Linked DNA regions of Homo sapiens: region 1 is linked to region 2. The links are contacts of gene promoters, found by promoter capture Hi-C in blood cells and fetal thymus (Javierre and others, 2016). All regions are on one chromosome and are shown on one strand. The core of a region is centred on a gene start or on the middle of the fragment in contact, and the rest is flanking DNA. Distances in the headings are between cores, read along the strand shown. Region 1 has its middle 4.7 kb from the start of MRPS33. Region 2 holds the start of TRIM24 (tripartite motif containing 24).

Region 1 (6,445 bases), core at 2,330-4,829, 2.6 Mb before region 2:
GCAAAACTGGCACAGAAGGAACATATATTAAGGTAATAAAAGCCATCTATGACAAACCCACAGCTAACATTATACAGAATGGGGAAAAGTTGAAAGTATTCCCCCTAAGAACTGGCACAGGACAAGGATGTCCACTCTCACCACTTTTATTCAACATAGTACTGGGTCCTAGCCAGAGCAATCCGACAAGAGAAAGAAATAAAGGCCATCCAAATCAGTAAAGAGGAAGTCAAAGTGTTGCTGTTCACTGATGATATGATCATATATCTAGAAAACCCTAAAGACTCATCCAAAAAGCTCCTAGATCTGATTAATGAATTCAGTAAAGTTTCAGGATACAAAATCAATGTACACAAATAAGTAGCACTGCTATACACCAACAGCAACCAAGTTGAGAATCAAATCAAGAACTCAAGAGCTGTTTTACAACAGCTGCAAAAAATAAAATAAATTAAAATAAAATAAAATATTTAGGAATACAACTAACCAAGGAGGTGAAAGATCTCTACAAGGAAAACTACAAAACACTGCTGAAAGAAATCACAGACAACACAAACAAATGGAAATACATCCCATGCTCATGGATGGATAGAATCAATATTGTGAAAATGATCATACTGCCAAAAGCAATCTACAGATTGAATGCACTTCTCATCAAAATACCACAATCATTGTTCACAGAACTAGAAAAAAAATCCTAAAATTCATATGGAACAAAAAACAGCCCACATAGCTGAAGCAGGACTAAGCAAAAAGAACAAATCTGGAGGCATCACATTACCCAGCTTCAAACTATACTATTAATACAAGGCTATAATTCCCAAAACAGCATGGTACTGGTATAAAAAGAGGCACATGGACCAATGAAACAGAATAGAGAACCCAGAAATAAAGCCAAACACTTAACAGCCAACTGATCTTCAACAAAGCAAACAAAATTTCCACTGGGTATTTACCCAGAGGAAAATAATTCATTACATGAAAAAGATACTTGCATACGCATGTGTATAGCAGCACAATTTGCAATTGCAAAAATATGGAACCTGCCTAAATGCCCATCGATCAACGAGCAGGTAAAGAAAATGTGATATATATATCATAGAATACTACACAGCCATAAAAAGGAACAAAACAATGGCATTCACAGCAACCTGGATGGAGTTGGAGACTATTATCCTAAGTGAAGTAACTCAGGAAGAAAAGCCAAACATTATATGTTCTCACTTATAAGTGGAAGCTAAACTATGAGGACACAAAGGCATAAGAATGATATTATGACTCTGGAAACTCAGGGGGAAGGGCAGGAGTGGGGGTGAGGGATAAAAGACTACACACTGAGTACAGTGTACACCGCTCGAGTGATAGTTGCACCAAAATCTCAGAAATCACCACTAAAAAATTGATCCACGTAGGGCCGGGCGCAATGGCTCATGCCTGTAATCCCAGCACTTTGGGAGGCCAAGGCGGGTGGATCACAAGGCCAGGAGATCGAGACCATCCTGGCTAACACGGTGAAACCCCATCTCTAAAAATACAAAAAATTAGCCGGGTGTGGTGGCACGCACCTGTAGTCCCACCTACTCGGGAGGCTGAGGCAGGAGAATCACTTGGACTGGGGAGGCGGAGGTTGCAGTGAGCTAAGATTGCACCACTGCACTCCAGCCTGGGTGACAGAGTGAGACTGTGTCTCAAAAAAAAAAAAACATTCATGTAACCAAACACCACCTGTTCCCCACAAAACTACTGAACTGCAAAAAAAGGTCTCCCTGTGTTGCCTAGACTCTCGAACTTCTGAGCTCAAGAGATCCTTCCGCCTCAGCCTTTCAAAGTGCTAGGATTACAGGCATGAGCCACTGCACTTGGCCAGTTTACATCATTGCTTTTTCTCCTTGAAGTTATATTCTACTCCTCTCACAAAATGTTACTTTATCTTAATATGTTTTTATGCTTGAAAGCTTTTACTGACCATGTGTCATATTTTCCTGCAACAAAATATTTGTCAATTGAATTTTAACTTTTTTAACTTCTATGACTAAAAGTATGTGTTGAAAATATTTTTCCCTTTGGGTTATCATTACAACTTTTTGTACACAAATGATCAAAATGACTTAAATATATCATGAATTTTGATGAACACTTATAAACAAAAAACTTCTTAACATATCCCTTGATAGATGAAGTTTTCCCCATGTAGTTAATATAGTCAAATATGAATTTTTAATTGCTTGGAGGGGACAGCATCAATCCTATTACTATCTTCACTTAAATGGATGTAAGCATTGAGAAAATGTGTTCACATAAGTGGATGGAAATGGGAAAACCTGTGTTATAGCAGTATCACACAATTTTTTTAAACCATGGTAAAAAAAACACAGAACATAAAATTTACCATCTTAACCATCTTTAAGTGTATAGTACAGTAGTGTTGACTATATGCACATTGTTGAACAATAGGTCTCTAGAAAATTTTAATCTTGCAAAACTGCAACTGTGTATCCATGGAACAACTCCCCTTCCTCCCTCCCTCCACCCCCTGGCAACCACCATTCTACTTTCCATTTCTAAGAATTTGACCACTTTACATGCCTCATATAAGTGGAACCATGCAATATTTGTCTTTTAGTGACTGGCTTATTTCACTTAGCATAATGTCCTCAAGGTTCATCCATGTTTTAGCGTATGACAATATCACCCAATTATTTGAACTCTCTCTGAGTTATATGACAAAGGTACATAGAAATCTATCACAAAAATTATTTAATTATCTGTCAGCTAAAAACTTACCTAGTCCCTTCTTCTTTTTCTGAAAACAAAGAATTACTTTCAACCTGACTTTTAAGAGCATGTATTATACAGTCATTCGCTTTCACAATGTTTGGGAAACATACCAAAAAGGCAACACCAAGATTTGCAAAATCTATATTTGTTCTGTTTTCATTTAGAATCACCTTGTTTTATCCAGGAACAGTGGCTTACACCTGTAATCCCAACACTTTGGGAGGCCAAGCGGAGAAGGATCACCTGAGTCCAGGAGTTCGAGTCAAGTCTAGGCAACATAGCAAGACCCAGTCTCTACAAAAACTTTAAACAGTAGTCAGGCATGGTGGCTCATACCTGTAGTCTCACCTATTCCAGAGGCTGAGGTGGGAGGATCTTTGAGCCCATCAAGGGGTTAGTAAAATGGATATATTGTTAATTTTGATACAAAATATCTTTTATAAAATGATTTATATCATCATGCACTTTATACATTTTTGCCAAACCTTGGAGCTGTAGATATGGCTTATTCAATTTATAGAAAACACCCATCAGCCACATAATCTAATTAGTAAAGTTAATCCTCATTGTCAAACCAATCATCTAGGTCAGATTTACTTTCCAACCTCATTTTTAACTAAATGTATTAGAATATGTATTCTTAGTTTTTTTAAACTAGGAAATTATCAAATACATCTCATAATCTCAATTATTAAAAGCAGCCAAGATTAAAATGATATCAAAACTATTAGAATTGGTTTATCCATTTTTATAATAAGCCATAAAACCAAGAATAAATCTATATGGTTTTTCTCATTACTTATTTCCTAATAATAAAACATAATGTGTGAGATGAATGTTATTTATGAATTAGAGTATAACAGACAATATTCCTTCAGTATGTCTGTGTGTATATTGAACTTTGGTTTTCAGCTTTTAGGAATAACTGAAGAAGAATAATATATAAATATTCTAGAATAGCTCTAAACAATTTTTTGGAAATCATAATCAAAATGTTTCCTATATATTTAATGAAGAATAAAAGAATATGCTATTTAAAAAGTAATCAGCCTAGAAGCTAAAGCATAATTTTATTTTTGTTAATAAGAGGCAGAAAGAAAGTCAGGATTGAAGTATTTCTCTATTTCATAATAGAATTTGATAAAAATAAGTGTATCAGACAAGATAGGCTAGGTCATGCTCCAATAACAAACAACAAATTTGTATGACTTAAAACAGAGGCATGTGAATTAAAACAACAACGGCTCATTTCTAACAAAAGCTATATTTCCAATATGGCTGGTGGAATAGGATCAGCCCTTCATAACAACTCAGGAGCACAGGCTGACAGTGCAACAACTCTCTGTCTCAGAAGGGAAGGAGAGCTCTGGAGTTTCATCAGGGTAAATAACCACCTTAATCGGAAGGTGACGCTTCACATCTGCTCATAACTCATTGGCCAGAAAAAGTCCTAACCATGATCCTAACCAATCTCAGAATTCCCATGAAATACAATCTAGCCAAAGTGGAAGGAAATGGAAAAGATTTGGTGAACTGTATCAGTGATTATCACAATACATTTTCACATTCATTGAACAACACACACCAAATCTAAAATAAAATTATGTATGACTTTTGCACAGTTTATTCCAGTGCAATGTGAAAAATATGAAGGTACCTGAAAATGATCTGTATGATATTTATAATGATCAGTGTCACGGCCAGGGGCGATGGCTCCCATCTGTAATCCCAGCACTTTGGAAGATGGAGGCAGGTGGATCACCTAAGGTCAGGAGTTTAAGACCAGCCTGGCCAACATGGCAAAATTCTGTCTCTACTAAAAATACAAAAATTAGCTGGGCGTGGTGGCAGGTGTCTGTAATCCCAGCTATTCAGGAGGCTGAGGCACAAGAATTGCTTGGACCCAGGAGACGAAGGTTGCAGTGAGCCGAGATCATGCCACTGCACTCCAGCCTGGGCAACAGAGTGAGACTCTCTCCAAAAAAAAAAAAAAAAAAAAAATCTGTCACAAAGCTCTACTACTTCAGCTGTTCAGAGTTGCTTTTCTTTCCAGATAATGCTATATCCTATGGAGAAGTACTGAGAATAGCTGAAAAGAATTGCTTAGGTTTAAATATACGGGAAAAAAAATTGGCTTCGATACTTTCTTCAGTGCTGCTTTGCTCTGCTCTTACCAGATTCTCCTTCAAAAACACTGCACTTTTCAACAGAGGATGGAAGACATCTGATGGTTAAAGGAAAATTACTGTCACTCTTACCACTAACATTCACACAGTATATCTGATTTCAGAAAATCACAACAAACCAATTACCATATTTCTGACAGCCGTACTTCACCCTTAAGTGGAATATATGTAAGATAGGAAAAGACATGAAGCCTAAGAAGGGTTGATGGTGCCTTGATTGATCATTAGAGGAAGCTTCCTCCAAAACATTTTGAATCTTCCTTTCATCTGTCATCCTGGAAGGTATATCCCTCACACCTTCAGTGATGGATATACCTTTCTTTTGTAAGGTCCAAGAACTACTGTAAATGCAGATGTAAAAAAGAACCTACATGATGCTAAGAAAGAATACTTATGAAAATACGGTATCTGTAAATTGATTTACTTAAAGCAATAAATATTCCCCTGCCCCTTGGACTATGCCACACCATAAGAACTTTAAGTTGATGTAGCTTTAATTCTTGCCCTGCCTAATGACAAAGAACATTTGCCAAAGAGTATGATGAATAATGAAATCACTTAAAGTGGAGGCTTTCCATTTTACCACAACCTACAGCAAGAAATATATTTATATTATGATCCAATGCACATATACATATTGTTTCATGAAACAATAATTACCCCTACTACATGTGATGCATTTAGATATTTTTTATCCTAATGTCTTTCTTTTAATGCTGGTCTCTATTCACTAAATTGATTTCACAGCCAACTAATGATTCACAGCACACAATTGGAAAACACAGGACTACAGAAAATAGAAATATATAAGGAAATATCTGATTTATAGAGCAATCTCTGATTATAAAAAGTGCTCTTAAAACTGCATTATCTTGGCGGTGTAAATGGGTAAGCCAAGGTCTGGTGAAGTCAATATCCATAGGAGGTTCAATTTTATTCTATTCATTTCATTTTTCCATCCCTAATATTCCAACTTTCCTATTGATAAGTAACAGTCTCTGATTGGCCAATTTCAATGGCTTACTCCTTCTAATCCTGTGGTAGGCTAAAACTGTTCCCCAAAGATAACAGAGTCTAATCCCTGGGACCTGCAAATGTTACCAGATACGGGGAAAAGGCCTTTGAAGATGTGACTAAATTAAGGATCTTCAGATTGAGAGAGTATTTTGGATTAGCTCCATGGGCCTTAAATGCAATTACACATTCCTAAAAGGGAGGCAATGGGAAGTCTGACACACATAGTGAAGGCAATGTGAAAAGGGAGCAGAGATGTGAAGATGTTGGCCTTGAAGTCTAAAGTGATGTGGCCACAAGCCAATGAATGCCAGCAGCCACCAGAAGCTGGAAGAGTCAAAGAACTGATTCTCCCCTAGAGTCTCTGGAGGGAACACAGCCCTGTCAACATCTTGATTTTGGCCCAGTGATGCTGATTTTGAATTTATGGCCTCTAGAACTGTAAGATAATAAATTTCAGTTGCTCT
Region 2 (7,336 bases), core at 660-3,159:
ACGTTATTCTTATTATACTGGATAATATGTATCCCCGCCTTTTGCTCTGGTGGAAGACACTATCTCTATCTTCCAAGGCTGCTCTTTAGATAATATCCGTGAAAAAATAGAAACAAAGGGCAGTCAGTATCTCGCTGGCAAGGGTGCTGGCAAGAGTGAAGAAACGGAGACCCACGGAAAACTGTCTCCTACAAGTGGATACTGCTCCTAACATGCAGTCAAATAAATGAGTCTCAGCCCACAATCTATTTGAAGTATCCATTTCATACGCCCCTTGACCTAGCATAATTACTTAATTAGCATTTTATTTCAAACTAAATCAACTATTTCCTCTAAAAAGTATTAAAAATGCTTTTCCAGTTACACTGTATTTTTAAAAAGGAGGTGCTCAAATATTTGCAATAATAAAATTTAAAAACCGCCAAGTGTTCTACCCGAAACTGTACTCAAACTTACTTTAAATGTTTCAAACCTGTCAAAGTTAGCAATGGAACACCTGTCAAAAGTCTAATTTTACAGTAATAAACACCACAAAGAGAACAGTAACTTCCAGCTTTATCTATAAAATACCAGAAAACCCAAATCACTTTGTATTATTTCTCTTCGCCGTCTCAAAATAAAACCTTTGAAAGAGACACACAACAAAACAACGTCTCTTGGTTCCTTTGTCCCCAGCAGAGGAGAGGGAAGAGAACTGGGAACTCATTAAGGTAAAGAGCCCCAAACATGCAAGATAAGAAATAAATGACATCCGATCTGCAATCAATCATCAAAGAAAGTCACCATCACTTCATCTTCATCCCTCCCTTCTCCCCTGCAGCTCAAATAACGTGAGTATAGACGAGATGATCAGGATCATATGGACCTGGACAAAGCTTTGTGGAGGCAGCGGGCGGGTAGCAGTTAACTGGCTGCAGCCGGCAAAGAACCCGAGATTCCGGCTGCAGGAGACTCCGACAGAGGTCTGCAAAAGTGCGAGTGGCAGGGGCCGCCCGGCTGTTGAGAATGCGGAGCAGCGGCGGCGGCGGCGGCGCGGTCAAGTCCACAGCGCCCGGGGAAGTTGCTGGCCGAGCGCGACACGCCGCAGAGCGCGGGCCCTCCATGTCACCGTCGCCAGCACAGACCCTCCTGCTCGCCCCTCCCCCGCCGCGCACCCCGGGCGGCGGCGACATGACAGCGGGTCGCGCCGCACAAGGGCGCCCGCCCCCTCCTGGCCCTCTCCCCGGGCTCCCCAGCGGCCGCGGCCGGTTCTCACCTTGGGTGGCGAACGGCGACGAGCCGCTGACCGGCGAGCCGGGGGCAGGGACGGGTGGCGGGGTCTCGGCCGAGCCCAGCATGGGCGCGGGCAGCATGAGGTAGCGCTGGGGCGCGGGCAGGCAGCGCTGGCAGAAAGAGTGCAGGCAGGGCAGCAGCTTGGGCGCCCGGCTCTGGATGTTCTGGTGGCACACGGCGCAAGTGTCCAACAGGTTGAGCCGGGCCGCCTCGCCGCCGCGCTCCGAGTCCGGGCCCTGCCGACTCTCGGCCTCGTTCTCCCCGCTCGGCGCCGCCGAGGGCCCCCCGGAGGCCGCAGCCGAGGCCGCTGCCGCCGCCGCCACCGCCTTCTCCACCGCCACCTCCATTGTCCTGCCCTTGCCGCCGCCGGGGAAGCGAGAGCGCGGTCTCCGCCCGCCGCCCCCGACGACCTCCTCCTCCTCCTGCGGCTGCTCCTCAGAGGCCGCTCGGTGGACTCGCGGCAGCGCCAGCGAGGGAGGGAAAGCAAACCGGGCGGGGGAAGCCTCCTCAGGCCCACGGGATCCGCCTCCCGAGTGGCGCGGCCGGAAGGAGGGTATCTGTCAGCGGAGACCGTTCCTCGCACCGGGGAGGCTGCACCCCGTCCGCTTCGCCAACCGCCGAGGCGCTCGTGGAATACGCCCAGCCCGCCCTTGCCTCCCCGCCTTTCTCTTCATCCCCCTGGCCCACCTCAGGCCCCGCCCCCGCCCCCGCCCTCCCTCTCCCAGCAACTGAGGCTTCGGTGTGGAGCGCGCCGCCCAATAGCGGCCGCGCCTGGCGAGGGGGCGGGACCTGTTGGAGCCCGCGAGGCTCCGTCGGCCGCGGCGGGAGGTTGGGAAGTGGGAGGTGCTTGCCCAGCCCCGCCCCCTCCGGACGCCTGAAATCGCGGCTTCTGATTGGGCCTTTGTGTATGTTTCCTCCTCTGAAAAGATTAAGGGTTCATTTGTTAACGACCATCCGCCTGATTCGGTCCGCGGTGTTAGCTCCTCCTAGGGGGCGGGACCTCACTTGTCTACTCAATGCCGTTAATTAAGTAACTGCTTGGAAAACTGATTTCATTACTGGAGACCTGGTCTTGTAGGAGGAGTAAATATGGTCGGAGGGTCACAGGAGGAAGGAGTGGAGGTACTGAAGAGCAAACAAGGAAATAATTTTTTAAAATACTGTGTGAAAGAGGTACTCTGGAGGCAGCAGGGATATTGCAACCTAATTTTACTCATCTCTAGAATGAATGAGTATGAAGAATAAGGGGGGGAAGTTCTCGTGCAAGTTGGAAATTTTTAAAGGGTTTCCCCAATGAAAAAGGTGAAATTAATTTTTAAAGTCAGTGATTTGCTTTTTAAGTGACTAAAAGTGGTTCGTTTTCCCAGGAATTAATACAGATTGACAAATGTTTTTATTGCATAAATATAGCATCATTAAGCAAAAATAAACCTCAATACTGTTACCCAAATAATTCATAACTTCAGGATTCTTTTGTATTTCCTCCCTCCCTCTTATTTTATTCCCTCCCTCCCTCCCTCACCTCTCTACGCTGATATCAGAAGTTACGCACATTTTTCACTCAAAAAATGGCGCAGCTTTTAAGGAACTTGAAGAATAGAAACGGAATGAAGGAAACAAGATTTTGTAACACGTAACTTTAAGAAGTATTTACCTTTTTTTTTTTTTTTTGTCAATACTAATGAAGCGGTACTGGACTTTAGAGAAAGATGGAGTGGGTCATGAAAGGCTTTGCTAAAATCACAGTTTTCCTGGAGGACTATATGGGATGGCAATGGGGGAGGGCTAGGCAACGTAGCCTTCCTTCAAGACCTTGCCCTTAAACACAACCTCCGTAGGCCTCAAGTGAGAGGTTCTTTTACTTAATCACAAGACATTCAACAGCTCTTCCCGCCTCCCCCACCCATTGGTTCCTGTTTAAGCTTGGGATTTTTTGTTTGTTTGTTTTTTTGCATGGAAGTAGCTCTTAAACCTTAGTTTGCATAAGAATAACTTGAGAAGCTTAGTGAAAAACAGGTGCTTGGGCCACCTCCGTATTCAGTTATTCAATTTTGATAGCATCTCAAGTGATTCTGACCTGGGTGGGTCCAGAAACGGAAGTCTGTCCCACAGGTCTTCACCCACTCACAAATCTCTCCACGATTTCGTCCGTATATGCCTCTCAAGCTGAAGTCGCCGCGACTCTCATGCTTCATGCTGCAGCAATTGTAAGGCCACCCTGCTTTGTACACGCTGTTCCCTTTGTTTTAGTTCCTTCAAAATTCTGACTTATCTGTTATCCCCTAAAGCCACCCCAAAGTTGAACACTCCTTCCCCAGAATTCAAACCATATTGTATATTTTTGAAGCTACACCTTGAAAACATTCACATAATAGGAATGGAATTTTGTATTCAAAAATCAACTCCCTTAATATGCTAAAAATTCATTACATAGGTGGTATACAGGATTCAAGCCTACTAAAGACAAGTCCCTCTTATTCCCCAGATGATGGTGGTAGGGAAGGAAAACTGAGAAGTAAAATTGAATAGGCTGGTTTTGAAAGAATTCCATGTAATTTGATCAAACCCACTAGCTTAAAGTTTTTCAAATCACCATGGTTTTACAGAAAATGATCTTCCATCGTTTTAGCCTTCCTAATTTCACATGAGTAAAACAATCGTACATTGTACTTTGTTCACATATATGGAACTTCAAGTCCAGAAAATGAATTTACTGTTTGTTTTTCTTAATCATATGATTTCTTTATTTGGATATTGTTGCCCTACAAAGCGTGTTCAAATATATTTCACAAAGATCCACACTACCAATAGATTACTCTTCCTTAATTACAGCTCTCATCCTATGTCCCTCCCTTATCCCATAATTTTCTGTGGCTCTCCACTGCATCCAAAGCTCTCCACAATTTTATTCCCATCTGATCTTCTTGTCTGATGTTACTGCTTTCCCATATCCATCCTGTGCTTCCGCCTAATTGGATGATGCGCTGTTTCTTGTTTCTTAACTGCACCACTACCACCACCTATGAGAGAGGAGATCAAAGCTGTCTGAACTGGAAGAGAAGGGCATCAGCAAGGAGAATAAAAGCATCAGATGCTGGCCGGGCGCAGTGGCTCATGCCTGTAATCCCAGCACTTTGGGAGGCCAAGGCAGGCGGATCAGCTGAGGTCAGGAGTTCAAGACCAGCTTGACCAACATGGAGAAACCCTGTCTCTACTAAAAACATTAAATTAGCCCGGCATGGTGTTGCATGCCTGTAATCCCAGCTACTCGGGAGACTGAGGCAGGAGAACTGCTTGAACCTGGGAGGCAGAGGTTGCAGTGAGCCAAGATCGTGCCATTGCACTCCAGCCTGGGCAACAAGAGCTAAACTCCGTCTCAAAAAAAAAAAAAAGCATTAGATGCTAGTAAGATTTCTCATCCCACCCCTCAAAAGGTGCTAGTGGGTGGAAATTCTATAACTTCCAGGGACACTTAAGAAAATCATTTTTCGGCCAGGCACAGTGGCTTGCTTAGGCCTGTGATCCCAGCACTTTGGGAGGCCGAGGCGGGCGGATCACGAGGTCAGGAGATCGAGACCATCCTGGCTAACACAGTGAAACCCCGTCTCTAATAAAAATACAAAAAATTAGCCGGGCATGGTGGTGGGCGCCTGCAGTCCCAGCTACTCAGGAGGCTGAGGCAGGAGAATGGCGTGAACCCGGGAGATGGAGCTTGCAGTGAGCCGAGATCGCACCGCTGCACTCCAGCCTGGGTGACAGGCAAGACTCCGTCTCAAAAAAAAAAAAAGGAAAAGAAAATCATTTTTCGGGACTGGGTGCGGTGGCTCACGCCTGTAATCCCAGCACTTTGGAATGCCAAGGTGGGCAGATCACCTGAGGTCAGGAGTTCGAGACCAGCCTGACCAACATGGAGAAACCCCATCTCTACCAAAAATACAAAATTATCTGGGCTTGGTGGCACATGCCTGTAATCCCAGCTACTCAGGAGGCTGAGGCAAGATAATCACTTGAACCCAGGAGGTAGAGGTTGCGGTGACCTGAGATCGCGCCATTGCACTCCAGCCTGGGCAACAAGAGTGAAACTCCATCTCAAAAAAAAAAAAGAAAGAAAAAAGAAAATCATTTTTCAGTAGAACTCTGATTGTGAGGCGTGTTTAGACATACAGGGTCTGAACTAACCCCTTCACCCAATTTCTTATAGATTTAGAGGAAGAAGGAAAAGATTCTCAGACTTCCAGAAGTAGCTGAGAGGTCTGGATGACTTGAGTCAGGATAAGGAGAATGCAATGAGTAGGCACCAAAGGCCATCTCAGACTATCTCAGTGGGGTCCATGGGGAGGCCCACAGTCAAAAGCCAATGGAAACCAAGCACAAGGGTGCACTGCTGTAGTCCTCACTTCTCAGGAAGCTGAGGTGGGAGGATCACTTGAGACCAGGAGTCTCAGGCCACAGTGCACTATAACCATGCCTGTGAATAGTCACTGCACTCCAGCCTGGGCAACATAGCGAGATTCAGTCTCTAAAAAAACGAAAACAAAACCTGTATTGTTAACCGGGTAGGGTGACCCGTGCCTGCAATACCCCCTACTCAGGAGGCAGAGGAGGGATGATCACTTGATCTCAGGAGTTTGAGGTCTGCCTTGGCCACATAGCAAGACCCAGTTTCTTAAAAACAACAACAGAAAATATTTGCAGATGTTTTATTATGGGGGGGGGGCGGGAATGGAGGCAAGTCACACTCTACATATGCCACGGTAAACCAAGAATGCCTCCCAAAACCTAATGTGTTTCCCCACATATGCCATGGCCCTCTTAAACCCTTGGACCTTCAAATCAGCGATAGATAAAAGGGAGAATGAATATGGTAGTGATTGAGTTTAGAACTTAAATGACCAAAACCACAACAAACAAAAGCAAATTATCTCAAATATGACTACATCAAATTTTCTACCATCAGGAAGATTAAAAATTTAGATAATTTTTAAAAAATTTTGTAGTCAACATAACACACTTCTTGGATGTGCAATAAAGGGTTAACTTAGCAAGCTTAGGTTACTCAAATGGTGCACATTCCAAAGAGAGGATTGACCCTTGACTCGCTCCTGGGGGGTTACTGCTGCCCTTTTGGAATATCCTGCCTGATAAGAGGAGAGCTTGAGAGTTTGGGCCATACTGTATTAATTTGACCAGAGAGTTTATGCTCGGGATGTGACCTATGGCTCACACCTGTTTTATATACGTGAGGCCCTTGGCCACTATATGTCAGTTTGATCTCTGGGAAGCTGGAAAGTGAGTAGCCAAGACCAGTCACATAGGTGCTGCATGCCTACAGGATCTCCAATAAAAAACCTGGAATCCAAGGCTTGGGTGCATTTCCCTGGTTGGCAAGACTTCATATGTCTTGTTACACATTATTGCTGGGAGAATGAAGCACTGTCTGTGGGGCTGTGCCGGAGGGAGCAACTGGAAGCTCGCTCCTGGCTTCTCCTGGACTTGGTCTATGCACCTTTTCCCTTTTGCTAATTCTAACATGTATCCTTTTTCTTTTTCTTTTTGAGACAGAGTCTTGCTCTGTTGCCCAGGCTTTAGTGCAGTGGCGCGATCTTGGCTCGCTGCAACCTCCCCCTCCCGAGTTCAAGCAATACTCCTGCCTCAGCCTCCAGAATAGCCGGGGCTACAGGCATGCACCACCACACCCGGCTAATTTTTGTATTTTTAATGGAGACAGGTTTTCTGCCATGTTGGCCAGGCTGGTCCTGAACTCCTGGCCTCAAGTGATTCACCTGCCTCGGCCTCCCAAAGTGCTGGGATTATAGGCATGAGCCACCGTGCCTGGCTTCAGGTACAGTTTATTACAGCAAAAGGATATAGATTAGGCCTGGCGCAGTGGTTCACGCCTGTAATCCCAGCACTTTGGGAGGCCAAAGAGGATGGATTACCTGAAGTCAGGAGTTCAAGACCAGCTTGGCCAAAATGGTAGAAACCTCATTTCTACTGAAAATACAAAAATTAGCCAGGTGTGGTGGCAGGCGCCTGTAATCACAGCAACTCAGGAGGCTGAGGC

Evidence for each region. Contacts are between HindIII fragments. The CHiCAGO score rates a contact against its expected background, and 5 or more counts as called.
Region 1: a contact is called between a fragment that was not itself captured here and the fragment with the promoter of TRIM24 in region 2, in 1 of 17 cell types (total B cells). The highest score is 6.5, in total B cells.

What each region holds. Positions count from the first base shown.
Region 1 is chr7:141,016,399-141,022,843 of GRCh38, reverse strand. No RefSeq gene overlaps it. Among named protein-coding and RNA genes, the nearest start is that of MRPS33, 4.7 kb to the right of the region's middle. The HindIII fragment of the contact is 3,243 bases long and covers 1,958-5,200 here.
Region 2 is chr7:138,454,832-138,462,167 of GRCh38, reverse strand. It overlaps TRIM24 (tripartite motif containing 24), which reads right to left and starts at 1,909. Exons shown (of 19, transcript NM_015905.3): 1 at 1,256-1,909. The coding sequence starts at 1,619. RefSeq lists silencers at 1,038-1,517, 1,548-1,797, 1,858-2,247 and enhancers at 1,758-2,540, 2,944-3,454. The HindIII fragment of the contact is 2,319 bases long and covers 878-3,196 here.